Linked DNA regions of Homo sapiens: regions 1, 2 and 4 are each linked to region 3. The links are contacts of gene promoters, found by promoter capture Hi-C in blood cells and fetal thymus (Javierre and others, 2016). All regions are on one chromosome and are shown on one strand. The core of a region is centred on a gene start or on the middle of the fragment in contact, and the rest is flanking DNA. Distances in the headings are between cores, read along the strand shown.

Region 1 (3,262 bases), core at 120-2,619, 2.0 Mb after region 3:
AGAATGACAGTGAGAATAAGATGTCACTTGAGCTAGACCTTGAATAATCCATATTGGTGAAGAAAAATTAGGAAGAATTTTCCTAAGATGAAATAATGTGAGGGGTGTTTTTTTGAGGCGATAAGGAGATCCATTTGGATGGATCAGAAATTTTGCATAGGAGAGTAGTGGTTGATGAGGCCCCAAAGCTAAGTTGGAGTAAGATGTAATTAGCCTTGAGTGCCAGTCAAAGGAATTTGAGCTTTCTCCTGAGGGCAAAAAGAAACCATTAAGATTTGTGAACTGAGGAGTACTGATTTCCAAAAATATCTGGAACATGTGGGTGCCATGGATTGAAATAGAGAAGCCCTGAGTGATGTTGGCAAGATTTGGAATTTCAAAACAATTTTTTTTTTTTTTATCTTGTTGGGCAGGGTGGTTCACGCCTGTAATCCTAGCACTTTGGGAGGCTGAGGCAGGCAGATAGCTTGAGTCCAGGAGTTCAAGACCAGCCTGGGCAACATAGGGAGACCCCTGTCTCTACAAAAAATACAAAAATTAGCCTAGCATGGCAGTGTATGCATGTAGTCCCAGCTACCTGGGAGGCTGAGGCAGGAAAGTAGTTTGAGCCCAGGATGCAGAGATTGCAGTGAGCTAAGATTGTGCCATTACACTCCAGCCTGGGTGACAGAGCGAGACTGTCTCAAAAAATAAATAAATATAAAAAGTAATCTTTGTAGAATAGTCAAAACTGGAATTTGAACTCTCAAGTTACAGTTTAGAAAAAGCACAGACTGCCTTCTCACCTGAGCCTTAAGGATAACCATCTGGACAGAGGAGAGTTGGCAGAGCAGGGGAAATTCAGAAGATTGTAATGGCAAGAGGCAGTGCCCAGAGTTATGAGGAGAGATACTGTGACATTGGGTCTCCTGCCATTACCCTCGCTCAGTCTTCTGAGTTGTTTGGTAGTAAAGGGAAGGAAAAGGATGAATAAGGCCTAGAGGTATAGAGGGAAAGTGCCTTGTTTATTTAATAAATATTTATTAAGCACCTAATGTGTGTACTGTGCTGGGCACTAGCGATACATGAATGAACAAGACATTGTCTGTGCCTCCAAGGAGCTTACAGTTCAGTACCTCAGTTTTCCCAAGTGAATGATTATAAACAAGCCATTTTTGTCATTTGTACCCTCTGTGTCTATCATAATTACAAATGAAGTTGTAGTTAGCTATTTCTACCCTTGCTAGTAGGTCCTTATTAAGTTACTAATAAATGTATATTTTTTAAAAAAGAATCAGCCATGCAATATTTATATGGATAGTGCCTTGCATACATATAATACTTTTTTTTTTTTTTTTTTGAGATGGAATCTGACTCTCCCACCCAGGCTGGAGTGCAGTGGTGCAAACTCAGCTCACTGCAACTTCCACCTCCCGGGTTCAAGCAGTTCTTCTGCCTCAGCCTCCCAAGTAGCTGTGACTACAGGCGCATGCCACCACACCCAGCTAATTTTTGTATTTTTAGTAGAGATGGGGTTTCACCATATTGGCCAGGCTGGTCTCAAACTCCTGACCTCAGGTGATCTGCCTGCCTTGGCCTCCCAAAGTGCTGGGATTACAGGCATGAACCACTGTGCCAAGCCTGATACTTTATGCTTTTCAGCATATTTTCATTTGAACCTTGGGAGAAAATTATGTGTATGTAAGATAGCTATTATTCCATTCCACAGATAAGAGGAAACTGAGGCATGGAAGACAGCCAGAATAATTCTAGTTGCCTGACTTGTTTTTTTGTTTTTGTTGTTTTGTTTTGTTTTGTTTTTTTTGAGACAGGGTCTCACTCTCTCACCCAAACTGGAGTGCAGTGGCCTGATCTCAGCTCACTGCAACCTCCGCCTCGCAGGGATTACAGGTGTGTGCCACTACTGTCCAGCTAATTTTTGTATTTTTAGTAGAGACAGGGTTTCACCATGTTGGCCAGGCTGGTCTTGAACTCCTGACCTCAAATGAGCTGCCCGCCTTGGCCTCCTGAAGTGCTGGGATTACAGGCGTGAGCCACCGCGCCTGGCCATTAGTTGACTGACTTCTAATCAAACATTTCTTCCTGGATGCGTGCTGTGGCTCACACCTGTAATCCCGGCACTTTGGAAAACCGAGGCGGCGGGGGGTGGCGGATCACTTGAGGTCAGAAGTTCAAGACCAGCCTACTCAACATGGTGAACCCCCTTCTCTACTAGAAAAAAATTAGCCAGGCATGGTGGTGTGTGCCTGTGATCCCAGCTACTTGGGAGGCTGAGGTGGGAGAATCACTTGAACCTAGGAGGCGGAGGTTGCAGTGAGCCAAGATCGTACCCCACTGCACTCCAGCCTAGGCGACAGAGCAAAACTCCCGTCTCAAAAACAAAAAACATTTATTCCTTTTAGGCAAGGCATCATACTCAGTATCACGAGGAAGAATAAAGATGTTGGTAACAAGTTAGGCAGTGGTAGCTAGAAAAAAATCTCCCAGTTCTTTTCTTATGTAAAGGTGATTAGTGTTTCTTGCTAGTAAAAAAAAAAAAAAGTCCTTGACAAGACCCTTAAGTCACTGGGTCATATTTGGCCCCCTGAGCATGGTTGTAGCTGAGCTGCAAGGTCGTATTTTCCTAGCTGTGTCAGAGAATATAATTTTTCACTAATACATTTTATGAGAAACACTCAGAACAGCATTTACCACGAAGCAAGCATCATATAAATCAACTCCAGTTAATCTTAAGAGAGTGGAGTGTCTCCTTCATTGGGCTAGAGCAGTTCCTGTCTCTGCCCTATTGGATTTTTGCCTGTTTTTCCCCTTCCCATTGGAACCTACCATTGTGTTGTATTATACTTTTCATGTTATTTACTTTTGCTGTTTTTTTTTTTTTTTTTGAGACAGAGTCTCGCTGTTGTCCAGGCTGGAGTGCAGTGGCGCAATCTCAGCTCACTGCAACCTCCACCTCCCGGGTTCAAGTGATTGTCCTGCCCCAGCCTCCTGAGTAGTTGGGACTACAGGCACGTGCTACCACGCCTGGCTAATTTTTTGTATTTTTACTAGAGACGGAGTTTCACCGTGTTGTTAGCCAGGATGGTCTCGATCTCCTGACCTGGTGATCCACCCGCCTCAGCCTCCCAAAGTTCTGGGATTACAGGCATGAGCCACTGCATCCGGCCTGCTCTGTTTCTTTAAAAATAAATTTTAAATTTTAAAATCTGCACTTAAAAAATGTCTTATTTAGGTTAATATATAGTCCTTCACTCCCTGGGTC
Region 2 (3,296 bases), core at 249-2,748, 1.1 Mb after region 3:
TGTAAGAATATGAATACAAATGTTAATAGAGCACAGCATTGTGTTAAAAATGTTCTTACCAAGTTAACAAGCTATGAAGCAGAAATGTACTTGGAATTGGTTGTAATGTGCACAAAATTTGTGACTGCATTCAAACAAGCTGCGGTATTCTGTCAGTCAAAACAGAAACTAAAATTGTCAAAATGTATAAATTATAAATATATATATACACACACACACACACACACACAGATTTTATAAGTAACTGATCTACAAAACTTTTCTGACAGAAGCTGATATTGAACACTACCATGCAAGGAAACATTTCAGAATGACTATATGTATATTCCTGTCTGTGTTGCATGTCATCAATTGGATTTTGGGAATGCCTGAGCCTTTGAAAAACCACTTTGTAAAGCAACCCAAATTTAGATTGCATTATGTTCAAGACCAGTTGGAAATTTTTAATCGATTACTGAATGAATGTAGCATGAAAATTCAGCTTTTGAAGCTTTTAGCAAGTTACAATTATGTAAAATAAGGCTTGCAAAGGAAGAAGCTCAAATTTCTCCCTACAAAAGCGAAGAAGGAGTTGAACAAATCAAAAGATGAAAGCAGATATGGTTTAATTATCTATTTTGACAATTGTGCTTCAGAAAAATCTTGACTTTGATGTATTTTGACTTCTAATTTTATTTGGATAAATTTTTATTCTCTACCAAAATGGAGAAAAATTGTGAAAGTCTATGATTTTGCAGTATCTAGATTTGGTGAAATGTTGAAACAATCACAGATATAGACAACTTGAAAGTTTTATCTTGTAAGAAATTATTGAGCAAAAGTGCTTTGAATGAAGGTAGAAAGACAGCACCTATGACGATATTGGCCTGAAATATTTACATATTTTAATCTAAAAAATGAGAAGATTCTTCATTTAGCAGAACTTACAGGTTCATCAGTATCTAGAGAGGAAATGTGTTCTCAGTTAAAAACATATAGTGAAGCATCAATTAAAGTTGTCCATAATTTCAAATATATTAACCATAAAATGAAGTTTTGAAAAAGATTGCAGTTTTATAAAAAAATAACTGTTTAAATAAAAAACGAAAAAAAACACATGTTCCTGAAAAATGTCCACATCCCAATGCTAGAGACAATAATATCTAAATAACCAATTAAGGTATGTGAATACATATAAAGAATAATTGTCTGTACCATTAAAAATGTTCAGATAATCAATTTTTTGTTGTTGTTGAGACAGAGTGTCACTCTGTTGCCCAGGCTGGAGTTCAGTGGCATGATCTTGGCTCGCTGCAACCTCCGCCTCCTGGGTTCAAGCAATTCTCCTGTCTCAGCCTCCCGAGTAGCTGGGACTACAGGCACCCACCACCATACCTGGCAAATTTTTTTGTATTTTTAGTAGAGACAGGGTTTCACCATGTCTGGTCACATGACACCAGGCTGGTCTCAAATTCTCCTGACCTCAAATGATGCACGTGCCTCAGCCTCCCAAAGTGCTGGGATGATAGGCGTTAGCCACTGTGCCTGGCCAATATTTTTTTAAAGTTGCTTGAATGTTCATAACTTTGTATCACTATCACTTTAAGATATTTCAGGAAATTTTTATTTTGAAAATAAATTTTGGATAGAATTATCTTATAGGTCCACCAATATAATAAGACCAAATTCAGGTCAATAAACACATTTTTTTTTTTTTTGAGACCGAGTCTCGCTCTGTCACCCAGGCTGGAGTGCAGTGGCATGATCTCAGCTCACTGCAATCTCTGCCTCCCGGGTTCAAGCAATTCTCCAAGCCTCAGCCTCCTGAGTAGCTGGGATTACAGGCACGCAACACCACTCCCAGCTAAATTTTTATAGTTTTAGTAGAGATGGGGTTTCACCATGTTAGCCGTGATGATCTCGATCTCCTGACCTCGTGATCCGCCTGCCTCAGCCACCCAAAGTACTGGGATTACGGGCGTGAGCCACCACGCCCGTCCAATAAACACATATTTTAAAAATGATACAAGCTCGTGACCCGTCTGCCTCGGCTGCCCAAAGTACTGGGATTACGGGCATGAGCCACCATGCCTGGCCAATAAACACATATTTTAAAAATGATACAATATGACTTATTTTTGGAACCCATTTTCTTTCTAAAAAATACCCCATTCTGAACGTTTGGTGATGTGGCCACCTCATCTGTATGATCTGGCCCCTTTACTTGCTGTCCCTGTGTCCTTGGTTCACTCTGCTCAGGCCACACTCTCCTTCTCGTGGTTCCACAGATGCTCCAGGTGGTTTTCCTGCTGGCCTTTCCACCTGAATCATATGACCCCAGATATTTGCTTTCTTTCCCCACCTCCTATATAAGTCCTTGCTCAAGCGTTCTCTTCTCAGTGAGTCCTTCCCTGATCAGTATATTTATAATTGCTGTCTCTCCCCACTTCCCATCCTCTATGCAGAATATTACTTTTACATACCAATTTCTTTATTATTTGTTTCACAGCACCAGAATGTAAGCTTCAGGGCTTACAGTTTTTATTTGATTTTTTTGCTTTTTGACTGCTACATCCTCAGCCCTGGCACATGACAGGCCCTCAATACATATTTGTTCAATTAATAAATGAATTGCCAGCCAACCATCTTTTAGATTCACATGTTATTTCTTTTCATATGTCAAGTTTAATAACATTATAGTCTCCTCCTAGGCACCATCCTGTTTAGTTAAAGGGGCTTAGCTCTGACCCATTTTATTTGATTTATGGTTCTTATCTAAGGAGGATCAACTTCTCTATTTGGGTGGTTTTTAGGCAAGGAGGGGCTGCTAGTGTTTGTTCACATGCCAACTACTCTGTTTAGAATTTGGCTTTTCTTTGTGGGATGGCTGGTAATTCCTCTGGCTTGTGAAAGAAGAGCTCATAGATATGCCACTTGTCAGTCCCCTTTAAAAGCTACAAACATCTATTAACTGTGGGTATCATTAAGCCTCAACATTCTGATAACAAAAATTTATTCTTTGCTCTTCTCTTGTCACTTATATATCTTAGGCGCAGCTCGTGTATACTACCAATATCCAGGAGCTCAATGTCTACAGGTATTTTTTTTTCTATTAAATGCTTTTAAAAATTAAAGTTAGTAGATAATTGTTATCAATCTTTGTTTGGGTGATAATTTGCTTTGCAAGTGTTTATTATTAGAACTCGTATATCATCCTCCTCTTTCCATAGTCTTTGAGCATAGGTAGAATTCTGTGAAGCTGACTTGACAACTTCTCAAGGTGCCTGGCTTCTGGAAGGGTTGTCTAGGCTAGTGGG
Region 3 (3,053 bases), core at 113-2,612:
AATCAGACAAATCTCAGCTGCTAGCTTTACCACTTGCCATTGGGTGGTTGGAGGCAAACAATGTCGCTAATCCTCAGGTTCCTCAACTGTAAACTGAGAAAATAACAGTACCTACCTCATGGGGGGCACATAAGGAAGGATTCAATGAGATAATCCATTTTATAAAGCGCCTAGCAGAGTCCCAGGCAGCCTTCAATCGTTAGTAGTGTTACCATCATGAGGCAGGTGTAATTATACCCATTTTACAAGAAACTAAGGCTCAGAGAGGTTTAGGTAAGTTGCCCAAAGTTTCCTAGCCAGTGGCAAAGCACAAGCTCCCACCCAGAACTTTTCTTCACAAATTCAGCGTTTCCGATACTCAAACTGATCCAGACACACTAACATTTAGGGGATTTACTGTATGCCATTCCGAGACGAGGCTGCATTTTAAGACGCCCAGGGAAGAAACGGATTGCGAAACCCAAAAGAATTCATTCTTTGTGCTGCAAGTTTTGTCTGAAAGGAAAGGGGCAAGAAGGGCATGGAGCGTGCTAGAGGTAACAAACCACCCAACAGAATTCTGGAACCAGGGGGCCGAAGCTTCTAAGCTGGACACATTCCTCTGTGGGTTCGATCCTCTAAGGAAGTGGAGTCACCCAGCGGCGCACCACGGCCCGAAGACCCTGCTGCTGCGTGGCCAGCGGCCCACGGCCGTGCGGCCCTTCGAGGCTCTGCAGCTCCTCGCGCCTAATGAGCCTGGCGCTTAAAAATACCACCCTAGTTAAACCTCCCGGAACCTGTCTTCAGCATTTCAAAAAAAAAAAAAAAAAAAACGGGCGCCGTCATCACTTTGAGCCACATAAATCACAGCCCTGACCTGCTGTGGATTCAGCAGGCGACGAGCCGCTGAAAGTGGCGACGAAGTCCGCCCCTTTCGAAGACCAGCAACTTTCCATTCTTTTTTCCCTGCGCAAGGCGCAGATTGCAACGGGGAGACCCCCGAGCAGCCTGAGGAGTGAGTCGGACGTTGGAAAAACTGCCCGGGAATCTCATCTTTCCCAGCCCAGGCTAAGCGCAGGATTCTTCAAAGCTATATCCTGTGACAATCACAAGGGTTTTCTCCGCCCCACGGGTGACGGAGAACTCGTGACCGGCCCCTGAGCTCCAAGCCGAGCGCCTAGAGGGCGCGGAGAAAGAGGGGGCGGAGCTACAAGCCCAGATCACCAGGCAGCCGAAGACGGGCAGCGCGTGCGCAGTCTCTCGCCACGGGACCTCCTTCCCGCCGCTGAGACTAGGAAGCGGGACGCCAAATCTGTCCCTGCGCAGCCGCCGCCGCCGGGCGCCGAGCGGGGTGGCCGCCCTGCCTGAGGCGCGCCTGCGCACGTCCCCACGCACGCTCCGGCGTACGGCGGCGGCCAGGGGTCGCGAGCCGGTGGAGGACCCGCGCGCGGAGGAGCCGGGGAGTCAGCGCTTCTTCCCTCCCTCCCCCTCTCCCCTCCCCGCTCCCTGCCCCCCTCCCCAAGAATGTTCCGCTACGAGGTGAGCTGTTGCGACCGGAAGTGACCCCTCCCTCCCTCCCGCGCCCCTCTCCCTCACTCTCTCTCCGCGCGCCGGTCCTGTGTTCCTGCGGGGCAGGGGGCGGGCTGGGGGAGTCGCAGGACTTAGCTGGACGCGACTGGTCTGGGGTCGCGGGTCTAATCCTAGGGCTGGGAGCTGGCTTCATGGGTCGAGACAGTCCCATTAGTTGCCGCTGGGGAAAGTTGGCCTCCGTTTTGGGGTGGGGAGGGCCCGTTAAGTGCTGTAACCAGACCACACCCCCGCCCCCACCCCTAGAGGAGCCACGGAGGGTAGAGCACTGCATCTCCCCGGGTGCTTTTCTTAAGTAGGTGTCACCCGGGAATTCCCAGAGCCGCGTTTCCCGCCCTGGACCCGGAACCACCCCCCACCCACCTCCACTCGAATTACACTGACACACATCCCATTCACACAGGCTACCTTCAGGTGAAGGGGGCCTGGGCTTGCCGTTGGATTAGGGCCCCAGCCCGTTTACTAAAGAGGGCTCCGAGTTGGGAGGGGGGCGTGTCCTGCAGAAGTTCCTTCTGGGCTAGTGCTGGGAGACGCGGGTTTGGAGAAGGTGCCGGGAATGTAGCAATAGCAGCAGACAGTACTGACCCTGTCACCAACTCACTGTGTGACCTTGAGTGACTCCTAATCTCTGGACGTAAACTTTCTGAATTTGTAGCATGAAAGAACTGATGTAAATGATCCTTAAGAATTTTTAATTTAAAAAAGCAGCGATTTGGTAAAGTAGATATTTGTGATTTGGAAGGGAGTACTGCTGGAAGTTGCCTCTGATAAGGAGGCAGTGGCATGCCTATTGGCATGAGTTTGGAAGGGCTCTGGGGTAAGAAGAACGCCCTTTGACCTAATCTTTCCATTGTAAACAGGGTAGCTAAGAGGTAGCCAGGCAAGGTGTATCACAAACGTACCTACTGATAGAATATGGAATTCTGATTCTGAATTTTTGAAAATTGAGGACAGGTATACTTGATAGGAATGATCTAAGACCAAACCAAAAGGAAAACTTGGAGAATAAATCAGTTGAGTAAGATTGAAGTAAAGGGGGAAAATAGAACACACCTAGGATGTGGTGGCCTCTAGCCTTTGTTCGATAATCTGTAATCTTTGCCCACTTTGATCATCACAACTCTCTGCCATAGTTGGTATTGTCCCTGCATTACAATGTAAGACATTGAGCCTTACAGCCTAGCACAGAACCTTAGACGCAATAGGTCCTTAAAAGGTATTTGATGAATTAATTAGAAATTTTCTGAGTTGCCCATGTTCACACTGATTGTAGGAATGGAGCCAGAACTTGAACTTGTCATACCACAGCTTTTCCAGAGTTCATTTTATTGTGGTTGAAGACCTAATTTTCTGTTTCATCACTAGAGTTTAGGCCTATAGGGAAGATAAGAAAGATGGAAAATGAAGACAAAGCTTTAAAACGGAATAATAGTTGAAAAGATGACATGAATATAATGAGAAAGATGAGAATTTTGCTGGAAAAGATA
Region 4 (3,027 bases), core at 413-2,912, 1.9 Mb after region 3:
TACTGCCTCTTCAAAGGGAAGACGGACATGACCCTTAACCGCCTTGGCGCCTGCTCTACTACAGCATCCCTACCCTCTTTTTCGGTGTGTTTTCATCAAGTGCTGAGGCAGACGACGGCTTTCACAAGAATTCCTCCCTGACGGGCCCATCCCCCTGCCTCTTGCAGCCCAGCCATCTTCCCTCAGCCCTCAAGTCCCTCGAGACTTAGCCTCCCGCCCAAAGCGCTCCTCCTGTTCTGATTGGTTCTCCCGGGAGCCTTCGGCCAATGGGGATGACGTATGCCGGACGACGTAGGCCCGAGGACTCGGGAGGAGGAGGGGCGTAGGGCTCTGCGACGCGCAGCGCGCTAGGACGGTGGCACGAGGTGTGTGGCGCTGGCCGCGTGGCCTTACAACCCTCGCTATCACTACCACCCAGTGCATGTGGGTGCTGAAGCCCGCAGGGATACAAGGGCGCCAGGGGCTGCCTGCAAAGTCTATGCTGGCGGAGGTGGCCGTGACGGGAAGTCCTGACTTTGGGCCTCCCGGATCCCCACGGTCCATTCCCAGAAACCCTCGCGCCTAGGAGTCTTTCTTCAAAGGAGTTGGGCCAGGGCGCCCAAGCGTGCGGGCCACCCCGCTTTGCAGGGCTCTCCCTGAAGCCCTGCTTTCTCCGCCAACACCGATTCCCTTGCTTCTGGATGGGGAGGTGAAGCACTCAGCCGTTGGCCCACCTGCGCATCTTTGCTCAGCCTCCTGACTCAACGCTGAACATTGAGAGGAAGCAAGGCAGGCTGGACAGAGGACAAGCACAGAGAAGGCAACAGGAGCAAAGTCTACCGAAAAGCTATTTCAAGTTGGGTCTGGAGGCAAGGCCAGGCGATCGTGGATTGAGAAGCTTCCCCAGGGCCCTTGCAACAGCTGCCATCCTCCATCCACATCTCTCTCACTGGGATGGGAATTTTTTTTTTTTTTTTGAGACGGAGTCTCGCTCTGTCGCCCAGGCTGGAGTGCAGTGGCTCTATCTACAACCTCTGCCTCCCAGGTTCAAGCGATTCTCCCACCTCAGCCTCCTGAGTAGCTGAGATTACAGGCGCCTGCCACCATGCCCGGCTAATTTTCGTATTTTTGTAGAGACGGGGAGTCACCATGTTGGCCAGGCTGGTCTCAAACTCCTAACCTCAGGTGATCCACCCGCCTCGGCCTCCCAAAGTGCTGGGATTACAGGCGTGAGCCACCCCGCCCAGCCAAGCCCGCCTTCTCTTAATTTACCTTTTCATTCTTCTTTCCTGATAGTTTTGACGTGAACTGTTCGGACCCTCAGTGCTACCTGATAGAAAACTGCATTCCAGGAAAGGAACACAGCTGTGCAGTGAGTGGGGGGGTTTCGGAGCTAAAAAGCTGGACATAAGCCTGAAGTCAGAATACTCAGTTTGTTTTGGGAGGGGTAAAATGCTTTACTATCCTTGCTGCATTGTTAGCCTGGTAATTAACTATACAAACGTAAAGGCCAAATTCTTTGCCTACTACCAGGGTCAGTCAGGCTCGCTTTGGTCAAGTACACCCAGCCAAGGGTGGCAACGTCCTTGGTTCTGTGAGAGACCTTCCCGCAGAGTCAGAGGCTTCTCTTCTTTATTGTGCACCCTCTGCTGGTTAGTGTGATACAGTGAGCTCAGAGAAAAGGCGCATACGACTTACTAGAGATAATTTTATACCCAGTAATGTTTCCTTAAAAGTGTTAACTTGAAGATTATACCTGTGGAGCTGGGATGTGGTGCTCAGGAAGAATATAAGTAGTCAGCATTGTAGCAGTTGAGTCTCAGTGGTAATGGAAATGAGGAAGGTTGAAGGATAATAATAGTTACCATTTGGGGCTTGGTAGTTATTTTGTGCCAGGCACTCACTGTGCTAAGCAACTTTACCTTCACTGACTCATTTAATCTTTAAAACAACCCTACAAGGTAAGTACTATTATTCTATTTCATGGATAGGAAAGTGAGACTCAGAGAAGTTAGGTCACCTGTGTGAGATTATACAGCCAGGCTAATAAATAGAGCCAAGACCCAAACCTAGGCTTATCTCTGAGCTCCCACATGTAACCACTATGATAATTTTCTTTCTTGAGATATCCTTGGCACAATTTCTGGGCTGATGTTTCCTCAACTCATACTATTATCTCTCACTTTCAAAATTCCCCTGCCATTTCAAAGACAAAAAACAAATTAGATGTAACCATGCCTCTGAAATGTATTATCTCACCTACAGGAGTCTGATCTGTGAAAACCTAGAAGGTTTGTTAAGACTCTTGCCAACATGTGCTCTCCTGCCAGTCCCAAAATCCTATACAGGAACCCCCGGTTCCTCAGGTTAGCTTTTCTGCAGCTTCATCACCAGCAGCAGAGTGATGTGTTCTGTGATGTCCTTCTGCAGGCAGAAGGTAAGAGAGTGGTCGGAATTCAACTGAAAACTCACCATAGAATAAGATAAAATGAGTTCAGAGCCAGAGGGTAAAGGACAAAATCAGCAAAATATTACTGCCTATGACCACTGTAAACTATTTGGTAAAGGGCTGTTTGTTTCTAGGACAATTACTACTGTTTTCAAGAGTGAAATTGTGACTTTGCTTCTTTCTCTTAAATAATGAATCTAATTGTAAAGTTTTATAAGCAGATACATTCTATATAACATGGATAATATTCCAATGGGATGGTTGTGAAGATTAAGAGTTAATGTGGGTAAGCACTTAGAATAGTGCTTTTAATATACTAACCACAATATGTGTTAGATGATACTATTATGTTTTCTTTTTGAGAGTCTCACTCTCTTGCCCAGGCAGGAGTGTGGTGGCACAATCACAGCTACCTGCAACCTCCACCTCCTGGGTTCAAGTGATTCTCATGCCTTAGCTTTCTCAAGTAGCTGAGATTACAGGCATGCGCCACTACGCCCAGCTAACTTTTGTATTTTTAGTAGAGATGAGGTTTTGCCATGATGGCCAGGCTGGTCTCAAACTCCTGGCCTCAAGTGATCCACCCGCCTGGGCTTGCC

The links. The method cuts DNA at HindIII sites, captures the fragments that hold promoters and counts their contacts. A CHiCAGO score of 5 or more calls a contact.
Region 1: a contact is called between a fragment that was not itself captured here and the fragment with the promoter of PATL1 in region 3, in 1 of 17 cell types (activated CD4 T cells). The highest score is 5.3, in activated CD4 T cells.
Region 2: a contact is called between a fragment that was not itself captured here and the fragment with the promoter of PATL1 in region 3, in 5 of 17 cell types (naive CD8 T cells, total CD8 T cells, total CD4 T cells and 2 more). The highest score is 9.0, in naive CD8 T cells.
Region 4: the fragment with the promoter of BTBD18 here is called in contact with the fragment with the promoter of PATL1 in region 3 in 1 of 17 cell types (fetal thymus); the score reaches 6.0 in fetal thymus.

What each region holds. Positions count from the first base shown.
Region 1 is chr11:57,705,275-57,708,536 of GRCh38, reverse strand. The region is part of intron 1 of MED19 (mediator complex subunit 19); the gene reads left to right. Among named protein-coding and RNA genes, the nearest start is that of MED19, 5.3 kb to the left of the region's middle. RefSeq lists an enhancer at 3,203-3,262. The HindIII fragment of the contact is 6,726 bases long and covers 1-3,262 here.
Region 2 is chr11:58,563,935-58,567,230 of GRCh38, reverse strand. LPXN (leupaxin) reads left to right here. Exons shown (of 9, transcript NM_004811.3): 3 at 3,030-3,076. Among named protein-coding and RNA genes, the nearest start is that of LPXN, 10 kb to the left of the region's middle. The HindIII fragment of the contact is 2,012 bases long and covers 493-2,504 here.
Region 3 is chr11:59,667,346-59,670,398 of GRCh38, reverse strand. It overlaps PATL1 (PAT1 homolog 1, processing body mRNA decay factor), which reads left to right and starts at 1,362. Exons shown (of 19, transcript NM_152716.3): 1 at 1,362-1,518. The coding sequence starts at 1,504. It overlaps PATL1-DT (PATL1 divergent transcript), which reads right to left and starts at 1,089. Exons shown (of 4, transcript NR_187296.1): 1 at 857-1,089. RefSeq lists enhancers at 813-1,102, 1,029-1,323 and a silencer at 1,283-1,632. The HindIII fragment of the contact is 2,400 bases long and covers 582-2,981 here.
Region 4 is chr11:57,750,454-57,753,480 of GRCh38, reverse strand. It overlaps BTBD18 (BTB domain containing 18), which reads left to right and starts at 1,662. Exons shown (of 3, transcript NM_001145101.3): 1 at 1,662-1,940; 2 at 2,245-2,416. The coding sequence starts at 2,293. All of the region lies in intron 2 of TMX2-CTNND1 (TMX2-CTNND1 readthrough (NMD candidate)), which reads right to left. The HindIII fragment of the contact is 11,151 bases long and covers 880-3,027 here.